Linked DNA regions of Homo sapiens: all the other regions are linked to region 5. The links are contacts of gene promoters, found by promoter capture Hi-C in blood cells and fetal thymus (Javierre and others, 2016). All regions are on one chromosome and are shown on one strand. The core of a region is centred on a gene start or on the middle of the fragment in contact, and the rest is flanking DNA. Distances in the headings are between cores, read along the strand shown. Region 1 overlaps LOC105379193 (a long non-coding RNA gene). Region 2 overlaps HNRNPA0 (heterogeneous nuclear ribonucleoprotein A0). Region 3 overlaps HSPA9 (heat shock protein family A (Hsp70) member 9). Region 4 holds the start of REEP2 (receptor accessory protein 2). Region 5 holds the start of BRD8 (bromodomain containing 8). Region 6 overlaps ETF1 (eukaryotic translation termination factor 1). Region 7 has its middle 21 kb from the start of EGR1.

Region 1 (3,890 bases), core at 264-2,763, 410 kb after region 5:
TTTTCTTCTTAGAAATGGATTTCTGGTGTTCTCATCTGCACTGACTCTGCCTTTTTCTAGCTCAGCCTTTTTATGTTAGCTTCTCTAATTCTTGTGCTGCAATGGTACCCAAACTTCAGTAGCAGTCAGAATTACTAGGTGGTTCTTTAAGCATGCAGAGCACTGGTATCCCACCTCTGGACATTCAGGTCTGAGATGGGTCGTGGAATCTGCATGTTTAATAGAGGGGGATTCTGTCGGTGGGGTGGAGATTAAGGACCACGTCTTTTTAGAAATAGCCCAAACTCTGTGGTGTCTTCTTGTCTCCAAATTTTTTCATTACATGTCCCTATTAGAAAAATATTGGCGCACATCCTCCCATTATGTGTATGTTCATGTATTTATAAACTACATATGTGTATATAGTACTATTATTACAAATACATAAAAATAGAAAACAAAAATGAAAGAGATAAAATAGAAATAGATTTAAATACTTCTTTCCTGTACCCCAAAGTATCCCTGGGGCTGCTTGTACCACCCTTGCTGCCTTCCTCTGTGTGGCTTGATTACATCATCCCATATGGAAAGCCTTGTCGGGCAGAGTAAAGGCCCAGAAAAGTGCCAAGGTGTCACATGGGTCACTGGTTTACCTTACAGGCCCAGCCTTTAGTTTAAGTGCCAATTGCTTGTTTTATTCAACTAGTGGTTGAGGGGTTGGGTGAGAGGGCTTGTGTGTGTGTGTGCCATGACCTGAAGCAAGCCAGTTTACCTGGAAGGATCGCTTTGACGAGTTCTTCAAGGGAAAAGGGGATCTGCTTGCATAAGGGTCTCATGAACACCTCTCTTCCATAAAAAAATGAACTGTTTCTTTTCTTTTTTTTTTTTTTTTTGAGACAAAGTCTTGCTCTGTTGCCCAGGCTGGAGTACAGTGGCACGACCAAGACTCACTGCATCCTCCACCTTCCAGGCTCAAACAATTCTTGTGCCTCAGCCTCCCAAGTAGCTGGGACTACAGGCATGCGTCACCATGCCCAGCTAATTTTTGTGTTTTTAGTAGAGACGGGGTTTCACCATGTTGGCCAGTCTGGTCTCTAACTCCTGAGCTCAGGTGATTCACCCGTCTTGGCCTCCCAAAGTGCTGGGATTACAGGCATGAGCCACTGCACCCTGCCAGAATAAACTGTTTCTAAGCGTGCCAATGGGTAGAAGCCGTGAATGAGGCCATCCTGCCTGTGCTCTGCAACTTTGCATGGCTTCCCAAAGGAAGTCTGCTCTGTCCTAGGTTGTGTTGGGTGTGTGCATTGGTGTACATGTGTATGGTACTGGCCCACTTCTCTCTCATTCCATTACAGCATGAATCCCTGGCCTGAACTGGGGAAGTCACTTTCAGGATTAAAGGCAGCCAACAGAACATCAGCACCCAGAGCCCTGGAGAACAGCATCTGTGTTTGAGTGGTAAAGTGTCAACAGGCCGCTTAAGGAGGAGTGGTAACTGAGTCCCTGAACCCAAATACAATTCTTCCCTGGGGTCTGTCTGTGCATCTATCTGCTCTCGAGTATAGTCCCAGTTGCCAAAGACGTTTCACTTTTTCTGGTGTGTAATCTGTGGTTCATTGATATTGTCCTCTTGTTCTAGGACACCATTTTGTGAGTGGAGTATCATTTTCACGAGTTAGAGTGACCACACTGGCACTAGAGCTCAAAGTCAGAACTGGGAGAATCCCAGACACATTTCAGAAATCAAGTTACTAAGTAAATAGCAAAGAGCAATCTCCCTAAAAGGTTTATTTAGTTATCAAATACGGAAGGGGGTTTCCTACCTTCTTTTTTTCGAGTACTTTTCCTCCTGCTACGTAAAGACATTTACATTTTCAGCTTTCTTCGGTGGACCTAGGTATCTGAGTGCTGGTGTTCTTTGAGAGTACTCAAAGGCCAGAGAGAGTAGAATGTTCTTTGGAGAGCTCTGCAGAGGAGGGAGGCGTGGGGTGCTTCTCAGATTCAGGGCAGTCAGCAGCCATGTGTATATATCTATTTCCTTATTGGTAGGGAAATTTGAAAATAGATTATTTAGGGTTTTATTGTTTTTCATTTAGCTTTATACCATTGAAAATCTCTAGGACTGAAACATCATTTTTTTCTATCATTTTGTGTTCTGCTTATTTTGTTTACTATTGTCTAAAGATTTCTGCATGTCAACCTGGTCCCATATACTTGTCATTTTTAATGGCTAGCTATATAATCTTATTCCATAAGCTACATAAGTTTATTCCACTGAATGCTCTGTTCTTCCAAGTTTTTATTTATTTTTTATTTTTTCAGGGTATAGGGAGAGAGAGGCTGCATTTCTAAAATATCTCTGAGAACAAGCTGCTTTTCAGAATTCAAATCAACATGTGATCTTCTTCACTTTAGGGGTATATGCAGGAAGCCATTAGACACAACCAGGTATTGAATTGTCTTCCCTGAAGTCCGTGTCTGTGGGTCTGGCTGGGCCACTTGATGAGAAATCTCAGCAAGAGGTCTCAGACACCAAACTGGGGAAAAAATTAAACTGACAGAGTGCTTGATATTTCCAAGAAGTCACTTAGGTTCTGTGTATTACCGCAGCATTCAAAAGGGGGACATAGTTCAGTGCTGTGATTAAAGTGACTTTTGCCGTTAGCCTCTTTGTTCATGTAAGATATAATGGTGGGTTATAGCCATTTCATCATTTGGGGGTGTAATGGTTAGCTAAAGCTATTTTTCTCCAAAGGGCCAGTTATTTCTGCAGTTTTTCTCTAAAACTTCAGCTTTAGTGGGTAGGAGCCATAAATTCTGTGACATAGCTGCCTTCTTATCTGTCTTGGGAGTTATAGATTACAGATATAAGACAATTCATGTACCTCTGCATAATGAGGTGAGTTTTATAAATCATAAATCTTCACTTAACATGCAGGTGGTGTTGGGTGCCAGGTTTAGAAAAACTGATGTAGTTGCCAAGTTCATGAATGTCATAAATCATTCATGCTAAGGTAGCCCAGAATCATGCTGTCCTCTGAGGCAGACCAATTTCAAGGTTGTTGTTAAACACAAAAATGTGAGTCTCAGTGATTTTTTTTCAAAATGAACTGCACTTTTTTTGAAGATTAAAACCAAATTACCTTTCTTTTTTAAGTTGAAGTCAGTTTCCTAAGACCCTCCCTTCACCCTCAAAGAATCTATCAGTAATAATATCTTTCCTTCCCTGATCCCTGAATTCTATCAGAAACACATCACAAAATACATAACCTGTACATTTGCAATCCAGATCTTTAATGTGCTGAAAATGAGATTCAGACGTTTCAATAAATCTTGAGGCACATTTTTCGGAAAAAAACCCCTGGAGTTTTGGGGGTTATTTTCTTCTTGTTCCATATTTTACATGAAGTTGCCACAGATTAAAGATATGCTGATCTTAGTAAGCAAGGGTAGCTCTCTTCCACACTGCCTCTTTGGGGCAAAGACAGGGAAAGAGTAGGGTCTAAAGAGTTGTGATCCCAGCCAGGTGTGGTGGCTCACGCCTGTAATCCCATCACTTTGGGAGGCCAAGGCGGGCAGATCATGAGGTCAGGAGATCGAGACTATCCTGGCCAACATGGTGAAACCCCATCTCTACTAAAAATACAAAAACTAGCTGGGTGTGATGGTGCGTGCCTGTAATCCCAGCTACTTGGGAGGCTGAGGCATGAGAACCACTTGAACCCGGGAGGTGGAGTTTGTAGTGAGCCGAGATCTTGCCACTGCACTCCAGCCTGGTGACGGAGCGAGACTCAGTCTCAAAAAAATAAAAAATGAAAATAAAAAAAAGAGATGTGATCCCAGGCTGGGTGCGGTGGCTCACACCTGTAATCCCAGCACTTTGGGAAGCTGAGGCCAGAGGATGGCTTGAG
Region 2 (3,425 bases), core at 21-2,520, 430 kb before region 5:
CTCACCCAGCAAGTAAAGAGCAAAGCCTAAAGACCATGCATATCTCGGGTACTAAGATATAAAAGTATGCCTTTTGCTAGTCTGTCCCACCTCTTCATTAGGGGCCATATAGTAAAATTACTGTGTACCAGAGACTACAGTAAGCCCTTCTTTATATGCATTCTTTCACTGAATCTGCCCAACAATCCTATGTAGCAGGTATTACCATAGCCTATTTTTTTACAAATAAGGCAAGTGAGGCTCGGGCCAGTTTGTCCAAGGTCGCAGTGCTAGAAAGTGACTGTGTCAGGAACAGAATTTGGTCTATTGGATGCCCAAATTTACGTCCTTAAGGGCTATGAAATATTAAATCAGATACCCACTATGAAGCAAATTACATTTGCAACGTAAGCATCAAAGACAAAATACACCTTTGATTTCTAAAAAGTAATCAATTAAGGAGAAAAGAGTCTTAATTTTCATCAGAGAATGTACATTCAATGACAATGGAGCTAACTCCAATTTTGATGGTGTGAACAATATGAGATTGTGACACAATGCTGTAAAGGAAAAGATGCATCATCTCAAAATAAATTGAATTCCCATTTCAAAATAAATTGAATTCCAACCAGAACGCAAGGTATATGAAGACAGCAACCATGTTTGTCTCACTGCTGTGTACCTCCACATTATAGAACTGTCTTACACAAAGGTGCCTAACACCCAATGAAATTGACGGTAAACACTGGGAAATAAGCACACTGTTTAAATGGCAAAAGTTTACACTTGAGAACTTTATAGCAGGAAATGATAGCTATTTCAGATAGATTTTTTAAGTAAACCATACAAAGTGGTAAAAGAATTAAAGAGACAAAGAAAGCCTGCCTGAATAGAGAAGGAAACAGTTAAGAATAACTACCAAAGGTGTCTTCCTGAATCCTTTCCCTCTCTGAAGGTTCAAATCATCTGGCTTCAAATCAAAGTAAAAAAAATAGGTGGAAAATAGAGAATTGCCCTTCTAGTCTTCCTACTTTGGAATTCCTTTTTAAATAGCAGCTTTCAAATATCTTTTTATAATAAATGTTTTACCTTGTAACATTTAAATTCTCATTCAAGGCAAATATGAAGTTCACTCAAAAGCAGGACAGCTAAGGAGTTATTTGACTAGGCAGTCTTTGTTGCTGTTTCAAAAGGCCAAAATAAGGCTGAGGAGGAAAATTTCCCCAATGATCACTCTTAAAGTGATTCAATAAATTGGTTACGATGGAGAAAGACACTTAGCCTAAGTGCAAGTGCTGTCTTTTTGGGTAAAATCCGTGTAGTCTAGATGCAGTTCTGCTCCAAATCCAACATCCAAATGCCTATCTGCAATCAGCAGACGCGGGCAGACAAAATTTAACCTAAAATGCAAACTCTCAAAACTTAAGCACACTTAAAAGGTAAACTAAGTTTACAAATCCAATAACTGATACCATCACTTCTGGTTTTGAAGGAAATCATAAATGCAAATTTCTCAAGTATCCTCAATCTTTTAGGTTTACTTAAAAATTATGAAAATTAGATTTGAATATGAAACGTTCCAAATCACTAAGTTAAAAATGGATGAATGGGTACAATCAGTATAGTCATTCTGATTTGATAGTTATCACTGTGAACCTTAACCACTTGCAGGCTTTTTTTTGGATACAGTAAATCAGTACCAATGAGAGCTTTTTAAATGACCTGAAAAACACTACAGATATTCCAATCAAAAAATCTAAAATGCTCCAAAATCCGAAATTTTTTGAGTGCAGACATGACATTCAAAGGAAATGCTCATTGAAGCAGTTTGGATTTTACATTTTTGTATGAGAGCTGCTCAGCTGGTAAACATAATGGAAATATTCAAAAATTGAAAAAAATCTAAAACTCAAAACACTTCTGGGCCCAAGAATTTCAGATAAGGAATACTCAACCTGTATCATCTCTAACAGCCTTTCAAACCACTTTCAACTAATGACTACTGAATTTATACTTTTAAAAGAATGTAAATGCCAAAGATCTTCACATTAAGATGAAAAATAGGAGGTTCACTTTTATTTTGCTAATCCGTCAAAATACATTCAAGCATGGCACAAAAATTATATTCAACACTAGGTTCTGTACCACCTGCTCCCATGAACTCTTAAATCTGAATAATGTTCAGATAATTTTCATAGGTGGAAGTGGTCAAAACATACAACCAATTGTCCCTCCTCCCCAAGTCCCACATGCCAAAATGTTTGCATATAAACTGACAAGAGGAACCCAGAAGTGACTAAATACCACTATGCTTTTTTCTTCACTACAAATAGCAATTTTAAGGGTAGACACATGACAATGAAGTGTTAATATACCATGAACAGAACAGGTTGCCTTCCTAATACACAGAAAATCCTTTTACATAATTCATTTGCAAACTTTAGAAGCCACTATATTCCCATGTTGGGAATAATATGACAACCTTATTAAACTGAAAACCCTGAGAAAGGTGTACTATTCCAATTGACCCAGATCTTCCCACCAAAACTGAGTAAGTCAAGCAGAGTAGTATTTAACAATTACAACGAAAAATTTCAGAGAATCATTTTCTGTATCCTAGAGGCCACTCTACAGCCACCAAAAAGCTGGACCAAATTACCAAATGAAGTAGCCCACATGTAATTTGTGTATCACTAGAATTAAAAAATAAGACAGAAATGTATGGAAAGTGTACAACTATTTGAGAGCAAAGGATTTGACTATGTATTACCTCAATGTGTAAAAACATCCACCCCGTTTGTCATAGAGGATATAACACTATTTGTACCAACCATCCGCTACCCTTTGTCAAAATGACTACTGAGCAGCTATAACCTAGCCTAATAATCTTAACCTTTCTTCTTACTTCTTTAAAAGCCCTGCCAATCAGGAAAAAAAAAAAAAAAACTGGCAAGAACTAGACCTTAGGAATTGAACAGTGACAAGAAGTTAAAAAATGGTTCAATATTAAAATATTATTTTATTTTAAAGCCCAATCTTTCAGAAAGCTTCTTAGTATAGCTTTGAGCCTTCAACGTCAACATGTAAGTCAAATATTTAAGTTAAATATTAACATCAAGTTAAGCATACTAGATTAAAAGGTACTCTGAACCCACCCACCAGGTTATACATACTCTCACTCAATCATGTAAAGAATTGAATTCTTTATTTGTGATATCCATAAACGTTGCTATTCTCTATTTCTATCCAGAAAGGCAATTTTCACCTATTATCACTTTTGTTCTTCTCTTATAAACAACAACTTGAATGCTATTGCAGGAAAGGGCTACAAATATACATTTGTTAACCAAGCAGAATACACAGATATTTTGCTTTACAACTTGCACCTAAAATACCAGTATACGTAGCTGGTTCATTAGTTGTCATAGCAATTTAGGGCTATTGCC
Region 3 (3,655 bases), core at 390-2,889, 390 kb after region 5:
TTCTATCTTCATGGGTCTCTAACACAGATCTAAAATGGTTTATATAATTCTATTCTTGGTGGTGAAGACAAGTTTCACCTCTCAGAACTGGAGCTAACCAAACTGACAAAGAGGCTGTGTAAATCTGATGCTCACAGACGGAAACTTGCACAAGCTTCAGCTCTTTTTCTAGACTGGTGATTCAAATTATTGTCATTTTTTGACACAGGGTCTCATTTGTCACCCAGGCTGGAGTGAAATGGTGTGATCACGGCTCACTGCAGCCTCAACCTCCTGGGCTCAAACAATCCTCTTAGCCTCTGGAGTGGCTGGGACCACAGTTGTATAGACTATGACCAGCTAATTTTTCAAATTATTAAGTGAGAGACAATTAGCCGGGCTCAGTGGCTCACGCCCATTATCCCAGCACTTTGGGAGGCCGAGGCAGGTCAATCACCTGAGGTCAGGAGTCCAAGGACCAACCTGGCCAACATGGCAGAACCCTGTCTGTACTATAAATACAAAAATTAGCCAGGCATGGTGGTGCACACCTGTAATCCCAGCTACTTGGGAGGTCGAGGCAGGAGAAATCACTTGAACCCAGGAGGCAGAGGTTGCGGTGAGCCAAGATCACGCCATTGCACTGTAGCCTGGGCAACAGGAGCAAAACTCTGTCTCAAAAAAAAAAAAAAAAAAAAAAAAAAGACACTCAGAGACTCTCCAATTCACAAGGAGAGAGGTTATTTAATATTGTCAGTTAAGACAGCAGTTTTTCCAAGCTAGTAATTCTAGTTTTAAACACTGCCAGAGCAGGTTTTAAAATAAATGTCTTTAACTGAAAGGCAAACAAGTACACCCAGCACATCATTCACACATTATTTAGCTCCAGTATATGTAACTGATTTGAGTGGCTAAAAAAATTTCAGCTCATAAAGAAACTAAAGACCTTACTGTCCCTGTGCTCATGGCAAAGGTCTCTAGAAACCAGAAAACTGAAAAAACAAACAAACAAAAAAAACTCAACTGACATTAGGCCAATTAGAAAATACTATTTATTTTAAATAAGCTCCGGCTGAAAATATCCATCAAGACTGCTCGAATTTTCCGTGTCTCACCTGCACAGATGAGGAGAGTTCACATTTAGCCTTTTCAGCAGCTTCCCGTACCCTCTGAAGTGCCATGTTGTCTTTAGTCAAATCAACCCCTGTCTATAAAGTGAAGACATTGAACACCAAACACCAGCATTAGTGAGGTGATAAATAAACTGCAGTAATAAGGTGGAACAACACAAAATGGAGTCATACCTTTATATATAAGCATGAATTACTTTTTATTACCCTTAATGTGTAGGGAAAAAAAATATTCTGAAAAGAGTATCTGTGTCTAGAATAAGGGGGTTGAACTGAACTCGTAAACAAAGCAAAGAGCAATCTGAACAAAGAATTTCTCAATATCCCAACGTCTACATATTAACCACATTGGTAACTCACCTCTCTCTTGAACTCCTTCACAATGTGCCGTAGCAAGGCCTGGTCAAAGTCTTCCCCACCTAAGAAGGTATCCCCATTTGTGGATTTCACCTCAAATACTCCTTTCTGAATTTCCAGGATAGAAATATCAAAAGTTCCACCACCTAAATCATATACAGCAATGCTGTAAATGATTTGTGAAAAAAAAAAGAAAAGAAATCCTTAAGAACAAAACCTATCACCAGGATATAAATTTCAATAACCAAATACAGATAATCTAAGCTATTTCCCTGAGATATGTACTAGTTAAATTACCATGGCCCAAAAGAAAAGAAAAGAATGGTTTTGAAATGAAAAAACAAAGACAATACAGACTTAAAATCAGTAAAAGCACTGTAAAAGGCTCAATTACTAAAAAATTAAGTGACACTTTAGTTTCACACATCCAGGTGAGAAATTTACTGCACAAACTTACACTTTGTCTTCTGATTTGTCTAGACCATAGGCAAGAGCAGCAGCTGTGGGCTCATTAATCACCCGAAGCACATTCAGTCCAGATATCTGGCCAGCATCTTTAGTGGCCTAGAGAAAACAAAGAGAAAAACATTTTTGTACCCTTCCATCCCAGGCACCTTACTTTTTGTGAATAAGAATGCTAATTGACCTCACCTGTCTCTGCGAGTCATTGAAATAAGCTGGGACTGTGATCACAGCATTTTTTGCTGTGTGCCCCAAGTAATTTTCTGGAAAAGAATGAAATTCAATCATGGAATTCTGTCAGAACAGAATTATTAATATAGCCCAACAACCTGTGTCATCCTTTTGCAGCCACAGACAACATTCTTCAGTCTTTTGGTAAGTGACCTAATATGTCCTTGCAGGAAACACTCCAAGTAAATACACTGGTTAAAAACCCAAGATCAGGCCGGGCACGGTGGCTCACACTCGTAATCCCAGCACTTTGGGAGGCTGAGGCGGGCAGATCACCTAAGGTTGAGAGTTTTGAGACCAGCCTAACCAATATGGAGAAACCCCATCTCTACTAAAAATACAAAATTATTCAGGCATGGTGGCGCATGCCTGTCATTTCAGCTACTCAGGAGGCTGAGGCGGGAGAATTGTTTGAACCTGGGAGGCGGAGGTTGCAGTGAGACAAGATCGCACCACTGCACTCTAGCTTGGGCGACAGAGCGAGACTCTTGTCTCAAAACAAACAAACAAACCCAAGATCGGCCGGCCAGGCACGGTGGCTCATGCCTGTAATCCCAGCACTCTGAGAGGCTGAGGCGGATGAATCACCTGATTTGTCGGGAGTTGGAGACCAGCCTGACCAACATGAAGAAACCCCCATCTCTTTACTAAAAACACAAAAGTGGCTAGGCATGATGGCGCATGCCTGTAATCCCAGCTACGTTGGGGGGGAGGGAGAGGGCAGGATAATCGCTTGAACCCGGGAGGCGGAGGCTTTGGTGAGCCGAGATTGTGCCACTGCACTCCAGCCTGGGCAACAAGAGTGAAACTCTGTCTCAAAAAACAACAACAAAAAAACCCCAAAAAACAGAAACCCCTAAGATCACTCTTTCAACATTTTAGTGAAGGTTCACTAAACTACAATGACCTTTAGACTTACAACAGCCACTTCAAATAGGAAGTTCTAATTTATACCTAACAGGGACAAAAGCTTAATGTGTAGTCTTGTGGCTTTCAATATAGAACATTACCCCCTACTGGAAAAAAAGAAACAAGCCAGCCACCATTAGTGAGATTTGAAGATTAATTCAATCTGCAGGGAAAGCATGAAGTATAACACAGTTTTGCCATTCCTAGTTTTTCTATACAAAAGGGACCACAGATTCATCTACAGGAGCTGGAGCACAGGGAGCTAGTGATCTCACAGGAATCATTGTTCTTAGAACTTTCCCAGATGTGAACTAAACCCACTCACCTGCAGTCTCTTTCATCTTCATCAACACAAATGCTCCAATCTGACTCGGAGAATACAATTTCCCATGAGCCTCAACCCAGGCATCACCATTGGAGGCACGGACAATTTTAAAGGGAACATTTTTACTGTAAGACACAAAAATTCTATTAGAGAAAACTACCTGAACAACTTACCATGACAAAATTACCACATACCATGAACATCCATCTTCCACCCCAAGAGACTCATTCATGGCCAACAAATGACAGTTTGTGAAATTCTT
Region 4 (3,643 bases), core at 1,108-3,607, 260 kb after region 5:
GGGAAGGACAGTTGATTTCCAACATGAGGTTTTTTGTTTTTTATCCAGAAATATTTTCAGCAAAACTTTCCAACTGAGTGGAGTCTGATTAAGGATTTATTTGAAAATGGTGGGATTCATTGGCCCATAGGTACATTGGAAAATGTATATCTCTCCAGCTGTACTGTAGTGCCCTGCAGGCTGTTTATATGTTCACAGTTACTTTTTTTTTTTTTTTTAAATAAAAGTCATTTAATGTAGAATACTTTTAATTTCACTTTCTGTATTTTAATTTTGTTGAAGGGCTGATTGGGATTTCCATGTTCTTATTAAAAATCTAACAAATCTGTTTGGAGTGGACTAAATTATTCGTGTACCAACCCTTCTAAAATCAACATCAGATTGGGAGTTGGGTTGGAGGTGGGGGATTCATTTCCAGGTCTTCATGACTGTGCTACACCCAGATATTTTTCTTTGCTTGTTGAGACTGTGCCATGTTAGAAAAAAGGAAAGTGCCAGGGTGAGGTCAGTATGGTTTGGGGAATTGGGGGTAAGGGGAAGGGGCCACATGAATTAGAGGGTAGAAAGAGAGACATGTTTCCCCATACTTTATGCTTTGTGAATGGAGTGGGAAAGTTGGGGTCCTCCCTTCCTGTGGCAGAGTCTGGGGGGAAGGGTCATGGTGTGTGGCCTCAGCAAAGTTGGACAGTCTGTGGTGGGATTCTTAAGCAGGCAGCCTGGCTGCCTACATGAAACGTGTGGCCATAGATCCACCTTAGAGATGGTGGGAGACACTCATGTGGGATTTATCAAGCAGTAATTAAAGTGTTTCATTGTGGGGTGATAACAGACTGCATTCCAATTAGGAGATGTTTTCTGGAGAGGAAGTTGTAAAGAATAGCAAGAGGGGTTATCAGAGGCTGCTTTTCTGGAACGTTTTGGGAAACATCTTCCAAAGTGTTTGAACCTGGAAATATAATTTACCAGGTTAGAAATAGACCATTGTGTTGTTCAGGGATACTGAGCTTGAATAAGACCATGACTCTTTGAAATACACAGTTCTGAATGTGTCCTTTCAGCCCAGATGGGCACAGGTTGATGCTGTGGTCACCCGAAGGATTACAACTCAACATAAAGGGTAGAGGAATGCAGAAGCTCTAAAATGGGACAGGAAAGGAGAGCAATAGGGCTGGGGGTGTTGGTGGATGGTTGGAGGTTGGTTGCTTTCCTGAAGATCAGGAGGCAGGCTAGCCTACATTCTGGATATAAATGTCTTTAGAATCAGGACATTCACTGCCACTAGTGCTTGCTGATGGGGGTGGAACTGGAGCCCCAGGACCCTCTCGCAGCCCCTCTGTTTGAAAAGAAGGTTGACCCTTTGTTGTCAGTAACCACATTGAGAGCATAAAGCTCTGTTCCGCTGCAAAGCTTAGGAGCTGACAACCTAAAAAAGCAGACCAGCAGCCCGGTGGCTCACACCAGTGATCCCAGCACTTTGGGAGGCTGAGGCGGGTGGATCGCTTGAGCTCAGGAGTTGGAGATCAGCCTGGGCAATATTGCAAAACCCCATCTTGGCAAAAAAAAACAAAAAACAAAAAAACAGGAATTAGCTGGTGGTGTTTTGGGCCTGTAGTCCCAGCTACTCGGGAGGCTGAGGCGGGAGGATCATTCAAGCCCAGGAGGTGTGCTGAGATTGTGCCACTGCACTCCAGCCTGAGCGACAGAGTGAGGACCTGTCTCAAAAAAACAAAACATCATCTGGTCAGGGGAGATCCTCTTTCAACGGGGTGAGAAGGAGTGGGGTGGACAGGTGCGGCTGTACCTGTGACTCAGGAGCTCAGGTGGATGTCTTCAGGGCCTGTAATGAGGAGAGTTTGCTAGTCAGCAGTTGGGGGATGTAACCTGTTTAAAGTAGGCTTCCTGGGGTCATCTTAGCAGCATGACTTGGTGGCTTTGTGACTCTCAACAGATTATTGAGCCTTAAGCTTCTCATTCCCTTATCTTCAAAATGAGGGCTTTTATAGCGCCTGCCTTATAGGGTGGTCAAGAGGATTCACTGGCAACGCAGTGAAGCTCTTAGCACAGGGGCTGGCACACAGTAAGCGCCTGGTGTGGGCAGGGCAGGAGGTGGGCAGGGGTCGATTTCAGGATGTAACCATGGAGACCTCCACGACAACAGCCTAGGGCTTGAAACCCAAGAAAGATGAACAAGCGATTCGAGGAAGGCAGGGCACTGAGGGTCGGAGGCGCATGCCCGGCCACAGCAGGTGCCGGGGCGGGGGCGCGCCGCCGCCGCCGCGGCGGCCTCCCGGCCTCCCCTTTAAGAGCCGCCACCGCCCACGGCCCGCCGCTGCGGCAGGGACCTCCCCTTTAACGGCGGCGCTGGGCGCTCCGCTGCCCCCGCGGCGGCTGCTGCAGCGGCTGCTGCTGCTACTGCGGCTCCTGCTGCCGCCGCCGCCGCCGCTCGGCCTCAGGCAGCTGCATCCTCGGCCGGGCCGGGTCCCCGCCCCGCGCCGCGCCCGGCCCCGCCATGGTGTCCTGGATCATCTCTCGCCTGGTGGTGTGAGTGCGGCGGCGGCGGGGGGTGATGCGGGCTGTGATGGAGGGCGGGGGTGTTAAAGCCCGGGTGGACTTCTCCGAAGCTTCGTGCAGCAGAGTCACCTAAAGGCGCTGCGTCCTTATTTGGGGCCCCCAGAGACATGGAGATGTGGCACCCAGGACTGGAGGGGGGAATATTAGGGGAGCGTGGCAGGCCTGGCTTCCCAGGGACCTCACCCACATTCTTTATTAATAACCTCTTTTATTTCTACCGTCCTTGCTCCTGCGCCCATCCTAGAGGCTGAGCAGCACGGCTTGATTTAAAAGGGGAGGCAGGCGCGTCCCCTCCCCCACCTAGCAGGTCTGGGCTGGAGGAGATCCTCAGACCCGGGCCCTGTCCCTCTGGGGGAGGTAACAGGGTGATGGAAGAGAGTGGAGCAAGGCAGGGCCTCATCATCATTCCGCAGCTCAGAGCCATCACCAGGCCCCTTGGTCTCTCCCTTCCACTCACTGTCAGGAGACTGGGGACGAGGGCATATGCCCTTAGGCCCCCTAGGGAGGAAGTCTGGGTATCGGGAAGCAGAAATGCTCGGAGGACAAAGTGTGAGAGGTAACTGGGAGAGGGGATGTGTGTGCTCAGCCTGGGATTGTGGACCCCGCTGGGGGAGGACGCTCCGTGGCCTTCATTCCAGGCTGCCAGCCACACTGTGGAGCTGTGTCTCTGGCACCTCCCCGGGCCCCAGGAGGGAACACACACCATTCCCCACGAGCCCAGACTTTGTCCTTGAGGATTCTGCTCCGCACTCCACTTGCACCAGCCGGTTTGGAAGTATCCCTCCTGTCCATGTGGAAACAGGCGACAGCCACACATTGTCAAGGGGCTGAGCCTGACAGGGGCTCCTCGTGGTTCTCGGAGCTATCCCCTGCCCTAATGAGGACACTGCCCCTCGGCCTCCACCGTTGGGGACTGACACCGGCAGCCCCACCCTGCTCCCTTCTTCCCATTCGGTACAGCCGGGCCGGCCAAGTGCTTCTGTCCTGGTTTACTCTAGACTCCTTCTCTTCCCCCACCCATCCCAGGGGGAATGGAGGGGCCTCACGCCTCCATGTGGCCTTCAGGGTGGCT
Region 5 (3,779 bases), core at 1,280-3,779:
TGATGGATAAATAAAACTTGGTATATTCATACAACAGATTATTATTCAGCTAAAAAAGGAATTAAGTATTGATACATGCTACATAAGAATGAACCTTAAAAAGTGTTATGTCAAGTGATTAAAAAAAACAAAAAAAAGTCCAGAAGAGCACGTATCATTCCATTTGTATGAAATATCCAGAATAGGCAAATCTACAGAGACAAGAGAGTTGGCTGGGTATGGTGGCTCACACTTGTAATCCCAGCACTTTTGGAGGCCAGGACTGGTGCATTACTTCAAGACCAGCCTGGACAAAACCTCATCTCTACTAAAAATACAAAAATTAGCCAGGCCACTCGTGGCGCATGGCTGTAATCCCAGCTACTTGGGAGGCTAAGGCACGATAATCGCTTGAACCTGGGAGGCGGAGGTTGCAGTGAGCCAAGATCTAACTACTACACTCCAGCCTGTGTGACAGTGAGACTCTGTCTCAAATTAATTAATTAATTAATAGAAAGTAGATGAGTGCTTGCTTGGGGGTGGTGAGGAGGGGACAACATGGACTGACAGTTAAGGAGTAAGGGGTTTTTCTTAGAATAAAATGTTCTAAAATTAGATTGTGGTGATGGTTGCACAACTGTGAATATACTAAAAACCATTATATTGTACATTTTAAGTAGGTTAATTTTATAGTATGTGAATTATATCTCAATAAAGCTGTTTAAAAAAAGAAATACAGCTGGCCTGGTGGCTCACACCTGTAATCCCAGTAGGTTGGGCGGATCGCTCGAACGCAGGAGTTCGAGACCAGCCTAGGAAACATGATGAAACCCCCATCTCTACAAAAAAATAAAAAAAATTAGCTGGGCATGGTGGTGTGCACCTGTAGTCCCAGCTACTCAAGAGGCTGAGGTGGAGGATCATTTGAGCCTGAGATATGGAGGTTGCAGTGAGCCAAGATCACACCACTGCCCTCCAGCCTGGGCCACAGAGTGCAATCTTGTCTCAAAAAAAAAAAAAAAAAAATAGGCCTGGCAGTGGCTCACGCCTGTAATCCCAGCACTTTGGGAGGCCGAGGCGGACAGATCATGAGGTCAGGAGATTGAGACCATCGTGGCCAACATGGTGAAACCCCGTCTCTACTAAAAATACAAAATTAGCCAGGCATGGCCAGGCGCAGTGGCTCACACCTGTAATCCCAGCACTCTGGCAGGCCGAGGTGGGGGGATCACCTGAGGTCAGGAGTTCGAGACCAGCCTGGCCAACATGGCGAAACTCTGTCTCTACTAAAAAATACAAAAATTAGCTGGGCGTGTCCGCACCACTGCACTCCAGCCTGGGCAACAGAAGGAGACTCAGTCTCAAAAAAAGAAGAAAAAGAAAAGAAAGTCTACTTACAGCTTAATATGATTAACTATAGAAATCTACCGATGTGAAAGAGTATCTAACAATTTCTAAGACCCAGAAAAGCTGACATCCTAGATACCTTACCAATTTTGATCGCCACTTCTCATGACAGAAGATGCTAAACATAGCTTCTCTCGGATGGACCATGGCTCTGTGGGGCCAGTGCTTAGCAGCTTGTGTTCTGGGAAAGGGAGAAAAAAAAAAAAGCCTTGGAAACAACCACTGAGACTGTAGTGCTAAGCTCCAAAATCCCCAAAAAGAGGACTAAAAGCCTAATACAAAACATCCCAACTTGTTAGGACAAAGTGAGCTACTATAACCAAATCTTGATTTTCACCTCTCCAAGTGAAATATCACCAGTGACCGGGGTACCTATTCGTTGCATGTGAATTATTAACATTTTATTTCTTAAAACGCCATGGCTTGAAGCTCCGCTTTATTAAGAAACAGGGAATGTCAGATTAGGCAGTTCTCCCTAAAAGCCCAGTTTTAAGAATACTGGACTTTATTCCAGTTTGAACTTATTCAGGGCTTATTTCCCAGGAACCCGAGCGGCCAGCCCCTCCTACTACCCCGCCTCCCTCTTAGCATAAACTTGTTTACTTCTCTCAGATCCTCTACTCCAAATGTCGGGGGTAAAAGAGCTTTTCAGTCCAAAAAAAGAAAAATGGCTGAAATCCCCGAGATGCAATTTCCTGAGTGGCAAGAAAAGCTCATGGTTAAAAGACCCCACTTCCACTGCCTCACAAACGTCAGACAAAAAAATGAATGGCTCTTTGAGGTGCCGGTTACTCCGTCTGGCTCATAACATCTTTTCGTCTGCACGCCCAAGTTTCTAGAGTGCTTTTACGGTTAACCCGCAGAGTTCCTAACACACTAGGATTCACTAAGCTGCTTCTCTCACACCTCCGCTCTCTCCCTGAGAAACAAGACCCCAGATTTCTGGGCCCCCAAACGTTGGTCTTCACGATGCTGTAGAGCGCAGGTCTCTGAAAACCCTGGGCTCTCAAGCAACCCACTTCTCCCACTCCCTAAGCGTGTAACAAAAATATGGTGCCTAGCCTCGGATCTACAAAGGCCTTTCACGCAAAACCTGCTCAGATACTCACTGCCCGTTCCCGTCGCCATCTTGGCCCCGAAGTCTCCAACCCTGAGGAGAGACGGTCTGGAAGGGCCGAAACCCTGGAATTCTGGGAAATAGTGTACCGGCGTTGGTTCGCGGTGCCTCCTGGGAAATGTCGTTTTTCCCCTTAAGACAAAGCAAGCACCCTAAACCAGTTACCCTGTGCACTCCTGTTAAGATTGTTGCTAAGGAAGGACAGGAGTTGGCTGCTGAAGCCTCAAGATTTCCTTTAGGCTCTTAGGTAAGAAATGTCTAAGGTTCAAGGAAAAAGGTTAAGTTGGAAGAATCCCAGGCAAAATAAGTGCGAATCCACGACAGTTGGTAACCCGGACCCACATTAGAACTCAGAGGTCAAGCAGAAGCGAACGACTGGAATTCCAGTCAGGCCCGCCCCCTTTCCTTACGCGGATTGGTAGCTGCAGGCTTCCCTATCTGATTGGCCGAACGAACGCAGCGCGTAATTTAAAATATTGTATCTGTAACAAAGCTGCACCTCGTGGGCGGAGTTGTGCTCTGCGGCTGCGAAAGTCCAGCTTCGGCGACTAGGTGTGAGTAAGCCAGTATCCCAGGAGGAGCAAGTGGCACGTCTTCGGGTGAGTGTGCGGCTGTGCTGGAGCCCGGGTTACCAGCTCTTGCCCGCGCGGAATAGGCTTTAAGAAATCGGAGCTGCAGCCATCTGTTTTTCTCTTAATGCTGCATCTCTGTTCTCACGGTGGTCCTTGGGGTGAGGTTAGAGAAGGAGCCGAGGGATCCTGACACCACCTCCACAGCACCGGCGGGCGAGGTGCCCTACTTTAGGCGTAGCCTTCTGCTTTTGGAGCCAGATGTCTGTGGACTTCTGTTCGCGTTCAGAAATGCCGCCTCAAACTTCTCTCAATTGTTCATTAAGTGAACTTCTCTCATTCCCTTCCCCTTTGCCGATAATTGGAGGGGAAAAGAAGTAGGAAGCGGGACACGGTGTCCTGGGGCAAGGGACTTATTACCTAAAATTCGCGGCCCCTTCTGTCCCTAAAGGTTCTTCTCCCTGCCCACTTTTTGGTCTCTTTTTAGACCTAGGCTGCCCCTGCCGTCATGTCGCAAGGGATCCTTTCTCCGCCAGCGGGCTTGCTGTCCGATGACGATGTCGTAGTTTCTCCCATGTTTGAGTCCACAGCTGCAGATTTGGGGTCTGTGGTACGCAAGAACCTGCTATCAGACTGCTCTGTCGTCTCTACCTCCCTAGAGGACAAGCAGCAGGTAAAGGAACTGGGGAGTGGCTGGGGCGGAAAGT
Region 6 (3,581 bases), core at 414-2,913, 350 kb after region 5:
GTGCAGTGGCGCCATCTCTGATCTTTGCAACCTCTGCCTCCCCAGTTCAAGCAATTCTCCTGCCTCAGCCTCCCAAGTAGCTAGGGTTACAGGCACGCGCCACAATGCCTGGCTATTTTTAGTAGAGGCAGGGTTTCACCATGTTGGCCAGGCTGGTCTCGAACTCCTGACCTCAAGTGATCTGTCTGCCTTGGCCTCCCAAAGAATTGGGATTACAGGTGTGAGCGACTGTGCCCGGCCTCAAATACGCAAGATTCTAATGCAGAACTAGGGTTGAGAATCACTGCATCTGGCTTGCTTTCTTCACAGGGTCATCTCTAGGTCTGCTGAAGGTAACAAGCCTCCACAACCTCACCTCCACCCAAAGAAGAAGAACCCAGAGCAGTTGCTTGCTGCATTTACCCTATGCTATGGTTTGAAGGTGTCCCCCCAAATTCATGTGTTGGAAACTTAATCCCCACTGCAATAGTATTGAAAGGTGGGGCATATGGAATGTGTTTAGGTTATGAGGGCTCTGCCCTCATGAATAGATTCATGCTGCTATTTAAAATAAGGTGCTTATAAGACCTGAGAGCTACAGTCACACGCGCACACAAAAAAGATAAAATAAGGTGCTTATAAGTAGTGGGCCATCTCTCTTTTGTTCTCTTGCCATGAGAGGAACAGTGTTCCTCCCCAACAAAGGATGCAGCGTTCAAGGTGCCATCTTAAAAGCAGAGAGCAGGCCCTTACCAGAACACCAATCTGTGGTATTCTGTTATAGCAGCACAAAAACAAAAATCAAAAAACCCCCAAAACCTAAGACAACCTAGCTATAATACAACCATAATGAATTGTGACAGCTCAGAGATACTCAACTTTACCAGCCCGAACACTCACTCCCCCTCAAGTACTCTGCCATCCAAGTCATCACTTGTAAATCACGTTAACTACTTTCAGGTTAGGACCAGGAACGTTTTAGACACTGCTTACTATACTCCCTAACCGGGATGTACAGTACATGCTCCCCAAGAAGCTTTCATCCCAGGGTTTGATGGCTGGGTTGTGCCTAGGCTATGGATGGCCAAATTTTTCACCACTTCCCTTTTCAAGCTCCCATCTGTGCCTGCCTCACAAAGCTCAATTTAAATCTCAGCCAGAGGCCAGGTGCAGTGGTTCACACCTGTAATCCCAGCACTTTGGGAGGCCAAGGTGGGCGGATCACGAGGTCAGGAGATTGAGATCACCCTGGCTAACAGGGTGAAACCCCATCTCTACTAAAAATGCAAAAAAATTAGCCGGGCGTGGTGGCGGGCGCCTATAGTCCCAGCTACCTGGGAGGCTGAGGCAGGAGAATGGTGTGAACCGGGAGGCGGAGCTTGCAGTGAGCCGAGATCGAGCCACTGCACTCCAACTTGGGCGACAGAGCGAGACTCCGCCTCAAAAAAATAAAATAAAATAAATAAATAAATAAATCTCAGCCAGATCATTTCTGGGAAAGTCACTAAGCCAGCAGTATTACATGGATCACCACCTGAAAATCAATCAGTTCCTCTTCAATTTCTACTCCATTTCCAAAACTGTCATTGTTTTATTCACTGTGTGTTTTCCATTTTTCTTCTCCCAAATTTGCAAAACTAAGTTTAAACTTTTAAACTAAGATGGTCTTTTTGATATGGGGTTAATATGGGAACAGAATAGGAGGAGCCCAGATTCAGGCTCACGTCCAGCTCTATCACTTAATGGCCGTGTGACCGAAGGCAAACCACACAAATCCCTGTGGGTCTGTTTCTACTTACTTCACAAGATCATGAGGATTCTACGAGATCATATATGTCAAGTGCCTAGCTTGGAGAGCAGATAGTAACTGATCACTAAATGGTAATGAGATGGAGCTCTAGTTCTTGACTATCGCCTCCCCTCCACCAGTAGTACCAGTTGGAAAGAAGTAGCACAGCCCAACTAGAAATGGGGAGGGGAGAGAGGTAATATCAGATGGGGTTGAAGTCTTATTTGAATCCTGTTAGGTCCTGAAGTATGAGCTGATTTTTTGTAGCAGATGATGGTCACCTTTACGGGATTACAGGACTTGCCAAATCTTCCACAGAACAAAAGAGCTATACCAAAAATAATATGGCCAGAACACTGGAAACTCTGTAATTTATCATAAGGGAGAACCATAGAAATTCATTCCTTTCTAAAACTTGTGTGGCATGAGTTCAGTATTCTGATATAACCTATGGCCAGTCTTCACAGGGACCTGATACTCAACTTCTCTTTTCTCTTCCACCAAGTATCAAACAATGAAACACATTGTTTACAGTAAGTGTATATAAGCTTCTTTTTTTTTTTTTGAGACGGAGTCTCACTCTGTAACCCAGGCTGGAGTACAGTGGCGCCATTTCGACTCACTGCAACCTCCGCCTCCCGGGTTCAAGCAATTCTCTTGCCTCAGCCTCCCAAGTAGCTGGGATTACAGACACGGACCACCACGCCTGGCTAATTTTTGCATTTTTAGTACGGAAAGGGTTTCACCATGTTGGCCAGACTGGTCTCGAACTCCTGACCTCTCCATCCACCTCAGCCTCCCAAAGTGCTGGGATTACAGGCGTGAGCCACCGGGCCCAGCCCAAGTGTATATAAGCATCCTGAGGGCAAAAATCATTTTAGCACATAGTGGTGCTCAAACATTTGAAAAATGAATAAATGGCCAATTCCTACCATCATCTCTATATACTCTTTTTTAAGCAAACACCAGAGATTTATTCTAAACTACCAAATAAAATACCAATAAAAAAATCTGGCCGGGCACAGTGGCTCACGCCTGTAATCCCAGCACTTTGAGAGGCCGAGGCAGGCGGATCACGAGGTCAAGAGATCGAGACCATCCTGGCCAACATGGTGAAACCCTGTCTCTACTAAAAATACAAAACTTAGCTGGATGTGGTGGCACGCACCTGTAGTACCAGTTACTTGGGAGTCTGAGGCAGAAGAATCGCTTAAACCTGGGAGGCAGTGGTTGCGGTGAGCCAAGATCGCACCACTGCACTCCAGCCTGGAGACAGAGCAAGACTCCACCTCAAAAACAAAACAAAACAAAAACCAACAACAAATTGTCAGTCCTTGGAGAGGAACTAATGTGCCTTAAATTGACTAACTGTCCCCATCTTTCACTGCACCTAAAAGTTCAAACCATCATACTATATTAGGCGTTTACCTTAAGAAAACCAGCACTAAACAAAACCAACCCTTATGAAGTGTCATTTTAATTTTGTTGATCCTCACATTAATGCCACCCCACTCCCTCTGCTACTACCATCTATGAGGCATGTTAGGAGGTGGATGGGGCTGCCTTTTATAAAAGGTTTAGTTAGACTATCAAATTAGGAGGGATGATTCTGTTACCCTTCAAAGGGACTAGGAAAGTTACCTGAAATTAGTTTATGCAATTGACCTTAGAGTCAGATGCTATTACCAAATGGGAGAAATACCAAGACCGGAACTTACTGAGACATTACAGCAACCTCCACCCTAGGGTACAGAATAACTCAGATGTCCAAACATTTTCAGAATAAAGTTCACAAAGGTTCATTTTAGCTTTC
Region 7 (3,421 bases), core at 335-2,834, 310 kb after region 5:
ACAAACATATGTTTTCAATTCTCTTGGTTAGTTCTCTTTTTGTGTGCGTGATGTTAAAATGAATTAATCAGCCAGGTGCCTGTAGTCCCAGCTAATCAAGAGGCTAAGGCAGGAAGATCCTTTGAGCCCAGGAGTTTGAGGCTATAGTGAGCTATGATTGCACCTGTGAATAGCCACTGCACTCCAGCCTAAGCAACATAGGAGACCCTGTCTCTGAAAAAAACCCAGATTGATTGATGGGTCCAAGTATCACTGGCATTACAAAGTTTCTCTATACCTTTCATGCAATGGTTACAGAAATCTCCGATGATCAATGATCCTTATCTAAATCTATTATCTCATTAGGGGTTAAAAGGGTGATTTTATTTATTTTTTGTTTTTCTATTTTTTTGAGATGGAGTTTCGCTCTTGTCACCCAGACTGAGCACAATGACGTGATCTCGGCTCACTGCAACCTCCTCCTCCCAGGTTCAAGCGATTCTCCTGCTTCAGCCTCCTGAGTAGCTGGGACTACAGGTGCACGCCATGATAACCGGCTAATTTTTGTATTTTTGGTAGAGATGGGGTTTCACCATGTTGGCCAGGCTGGTCTTGAACTTCTGACCTCAAGTGATCTGCTCGCCTTGGCCTCCCAATGTGCTGGGTTTACAGGCATGAGTCAATGTACTTGGCCAAAGGGTGATTTTATAATTCTATCATTCCGTTTGCATTTGTTAGCCAGAATTTTTCTAGACTAAATCATAATTGTAAAGAAAGCACGATAAATACTCAAGTCTCTTCTTTCATTTGTCAAATGACAATATTTTGTACTTTCCTGTATGGAACCCCAAAGACATTCTGAATGTCAGCTGGGCGCAGTGGCTGACACATGTAATTCCAGCACTTTGGGAGACTGAGGCGGGCGGATCACGAGGTCAGGAGATCGAGACCATCCTGGCTAACACGGTGAAAACCCATCTCTACTAAAAATACAAAAAATTAGCTGGGCATGGTGGCGAACGCCTGTAGTCCCAGCTACTCGGGAAGCTGAGACAGGAGAATGGCGTGAACCCGGGAGGCGGAGGTTGCAGTGAGCCGAGATCGTGTGACTGCACTCCGGCCTGGGCGACAGAGCGAGATTCCGTCTCAAAAAAAGAAAAAAAAAAAAAAGAAATTCTGAATGTCTACATGGTCAAGGCTCTCCATGGAGTTGCAAATAAAAAATTATGATCCTGGCCTGGTGCGGTGGCTCAAGCTTGTAATCCTAGCACTTTGGGAGGCCGAGGTTGGAGGATCACCTGAGGTCGGAAGTTCAAGACCAGCCTGACCAACATGGAGAAACCCTGTCTCTATCAAAAATACAAAATCAGCCAGACGTGGTGGCGCATGTCTGTTAATGCCAGCTACTCGGGAGGCTGAGGCAGGAGAATTGCTTGAACCCAGGAGGCAGAGGTTGTGGTGAGCCAAGATTGCGCTATTGCACTCCAGCCTGGGCAACAAGAGCGAAACTCCGTCTCAAAAAAAAAAAAAAAAAAAAAAAAGGATTATGATACTGGAGACAGAAAACAAAAATAAATCCAATCTTGACTTGGAAAACTACAGGGTGTCTACTTAATGCCTCAGAGCAATACTGTACTCTATAAAATTCCTCCTAACCTTTCCTTTCTACCCCCTCTCTTTCCCTTCTCTCTTCCCCTTCCTTGTTCTTTATTATATAGATGGATTTAGCCTCTCTGCCTAAGTCCTTCTTTCTCCCAGCCTCTCTAGCTCTCCATCTCCTCCTGTCTCTAACCAGCACCCTCACCCACTCATTTTGATTCTGCATCACAAAAGATGCCGGACTGGGGATGGCTGAGAGCAGACTCTTGGAGTTGGGAGTGGGCATGAATTCTGAGCTGGAAACCTTTTGTGGATGGGTGAGAGGAGAGAAAACAGGGAGAAACACTCAAACTAATGAAGCTTATTTCCATCACATGTATTTTCTGCAATGAGCATGAATCACATATGGTGGAATAAAAAATAAATAAATAAAATGTTTTAAAAATAAGAGATGGTAGGGAAGGAAGTAAGCACTATTCTTTCTCAATTTCCAGTTCCCCTTCTTCTCCATACAGACTGCAGCATCCTTGGCTTTCTGTTCCAGGGCAAGTGAAGTGGAACCTTTCCTCTGACTCAGGATTTAAAGTGTTTCCCACCCCCTCAGGCCCACAGCGTGGGTGGCAGCCTTGGAGTCATGCTCCTGTCACCATGCAGAGGAGCTCTGTGAGCTATGGGAGCCAGGCTGGCTAAAGGCCTTCAGTGATAGATGAGAGGTCTCCCTGATTTTTTTGTTTGTTTGTTTGTTTGTTTTTTTGAGATGGAGTCTCGCTCTGTCACCCAGGCTGGAGTGCAGTGGCGCGATCTCGGCTCACTGCAAGCTCCATCTCCCGGGTTCACGCCATTCTCCTGCCTCAGCCTCCCCAGTAGCTGAGACTACAGGCACTCGCCATCACGCCCGGCTAATTTTTTTTATTTTTAGTAGAGATGGGGTTTCACCATGTTAGCCAGGATGGTCTAGTTCTCCTGACCTCGTGATCCACCCGCCTCGGCCTCCCAAAATGCTAGGATTACAGGCGTGAGCCACCGCGCCCGGCTGAGGTCTCCCTGATTAAAACTGCTGGGCTTGGCTGGGCCCGGTGGCTCATGCCTGTAATGCCAACACTTTGGGAGGCCAAGGCAGGTGGATCACTTGAGGTCAGGAGTTCGAGACTAGCCTGGCCAACATGGTGAAACCCCATCTCTACTAAAAATACAAAGATTAGTGACCATTTGTGTGGTGCAGTTGGTTGGTGTGCTTGCCTCCAACTCTGGAGATGGGCGCCCATTCTGGGGAGTTTCTCTTGCATTTTGGCCAGGCACGGTGGCTCACGCCTATAATCCCAGCACTTTGGGAGGCCAAGGTGGATGGATCACGAGGTCAGGAGTTCAAGACCAACGTGGCCAACATGGTGAAACCCCGTCTCTACTAAAATACAAAAAATTAGCCGAGCATGGTGGTGCGCACCTGTAGTCCCAGCTGCTGGCTAAGGCAGGAGAATCACTTGAACCCCAGAGACAGAGATTGCAGTGAGCCGAGATCACACCACTGCACTCCAGCCTGGCGTGGTGGCACGTGCCTGTATTCCCAGCTACTCAGGAGGCTAAGGCAGAAAAATCACTTGAACCTGGGAGGCGGAGGTTGCAGTGAGTGAAGATGGTACCACTGCACTCCAGCCTGGGCAACAGAGCAAGACGTGGTCTCAAACAAACAAACAAACAAACAAAAAACTGCTGGGCTCTCCAGCCTCTTCTCCAAGAAGCACCTCCTTGGGTCTTCAGGAGATCTCCCGAGGCTGTTCAATGGAGACATCTTGGTCTCTTAGGAAAATTTCAAGGCTTGGGAAGGGTAGTGGAGACCTCTCAA

What was found. The method cuts DNA at HindIII sites, captures the fragments that hold promoters and counts their contacts. A CHiCAGO score of 5 or more calls a contact.
Region 1: a fragment that was not itself captured here is called in contact with the fragment with the promoter of BRD8 in region 5 in 1 of 17 cell types (neutrophils); the score reaches 6.9 in neutrophils.
Region 2: a fragment that was not itself captured here is called in contact with the fragment with the promoter of BRD8 in region 5 in 2 of 17 cell types (naive CD4 T cells and non-activated CD4 T cells); the score reaches 6.1 in naive CD4 T cells.
Region 3: a contact is called between a fragment that was not itself captured here and the fragment with the promoter of BRD8 in region 5, in 5 of 17 cell types (erythroblasts, neutrophils, M0 macrophages and 2 more). The highest score is 8.6, in erythroblasts.
Region 4: the fragment with the promoter of REEP2 here is called in contact with the fragment with the promoter of BRD8 in region 5 in 15 of 17 cell types (megakaryocytes, erythroblasts, fetal thymus and 12 more); the score reaches 19.0 in megakaryocytes.
Region 6: a contact is called between a fragment that was not itself captured here and the fragment with the promoter of BRD8 in region 5, in 8 of 17 cell types (erythroblasts, megakaryocytes, neutrophils and 5 more). The highest score is 11.5, in erythroblasts.
Region 7: a contact is called between a fragment that was not itself captured here and the fragment with the promoter of BRD8 in region 5, in 3 of 17 cell types (fetal thymus, endothelial precursors and erythroblasts). The highest score is 6.8, in fetal thymus.

The regions. Positions count from the first base shown.
Region 1 is chr5:138,582,494-138,586,383 of GRCh38, forward strand. LOC105379193 (a long non-coding RNA gene) reads left to right here. Exons shown (of 3, transcript XR_001742900.1): 2 at 1,335-1,437; 3 at 2,302-2,596. Among named protein-coding and RNA genes, the nearest start is that of HSPA9, 9.0 kb to the left of the region's middle. The HindIII fragment of the contact is 9,043 bases long and covers 1-3,890 here.
Region 2 is chr5:137,748,406-137,751,830 of GRCh38, forward strand. It overlaps HNRNPA0 (heterogeneous nuclear ribonucleoprotein A0), which reads right to left. Exons shown (of 1, transcript NM_006805.4): 1 at 1-3,425. Among named protein-coding and RNA genes, the nearest start is that of HNRNPA0, 4.2 kb to the right of the region's middle. The HindIII fragment of the contact is 3,508 bases long and covers 1-3,024 here.
Region 3 is chr5:138,565,532-138,569,186 of GRCh38, forward strand. It overlaps HSPA9 (heat shock protein family A (Hsp70) member 9), which reads right to left. Exons shown (of 17, transcript NM_004134.7): 5 at 3,394-3,518; 6 at 2,118-2,191; 7 at 1,924-2,030; 8 at 1,470-1,632; 9 at 1,095-1,187. Among named protein-coding and RNA genes, the nearest start is that of SNORD63, 6.2 kb to the left of the region's middle. The HindIII fragment of the contact is 2,975 bases long and covers 153-3,127 here.
Region 4 is chr5:138,436,700-138,440,342 of GRCh38, forward strand. It overlaps REEP2 (receptor accessory protein 2), which reads left to right and starts at 2,358. Exons shown (of 8, transcript NM_001271803.2): 1 at 2,358-2,541. The coding sequence starts at 2,510. It overlaps KDM3B (lysine demethylase 3B), which reads left to right. Exons shown (of 24, transcript NM_016604.4): 24 at 1-328. RefSeq lists a silencer at 2,186-2,605 and an enhancer at 2,991-3,524. The HindIII fragment of the contact is 657 bases long and covers 1,963-2,619 here.
Region 5 is chr5:138,176,101-138,179,879 of GRCh38, forward strand. It overlaps BRD8 (bromodomain containing 8), which reads right to left and starts at 2,530. Exons shown (of 27, transcript NM_139199.2): 1 at 2,496-2,530; 2 at 1,471-1,567. The coding sequence starts at 2,514. KIF20A (kinesin family member 20A) reads left to right here and starts at 3,012. Exons shown (of 19, transcript NM_005733.3): 1 at 3,012-3,102; 2 at 3,560-3,745. The coding sequence starts at 3,581. RefSeq lists enhancers at 2,480-2,774, 2,482-2,531, 2,672-2,841. The HindIII fragment of the contact is 9,650 bases long and covers 1-3,779 here.
Region 6 is chr5:138,530,625-138,534,205 of GRCh38, forward strand. All of the region lies in intron 2 of ETF1 (eukaryotic translation termination factor 1), which reads right to left. Among named protein-coding and RNA genes, the nearest start is that of ETF1, 11 kb to the right of the region's middle. The HindIII fragment of the contact is 1,301 bases long and covers 1,014-2,314 here.
Region 7 is chr5:138,485,053-138,488,473 of GRCh38, forward strand. No RefSeq gene overlaps it. Among named protein-coding and RNA genes, the nearest start is that of EGR1, 21 kb to the left of the region's middle. The HindIII fragment of the contact is 704 bases long and covers 1,233-1,936 here.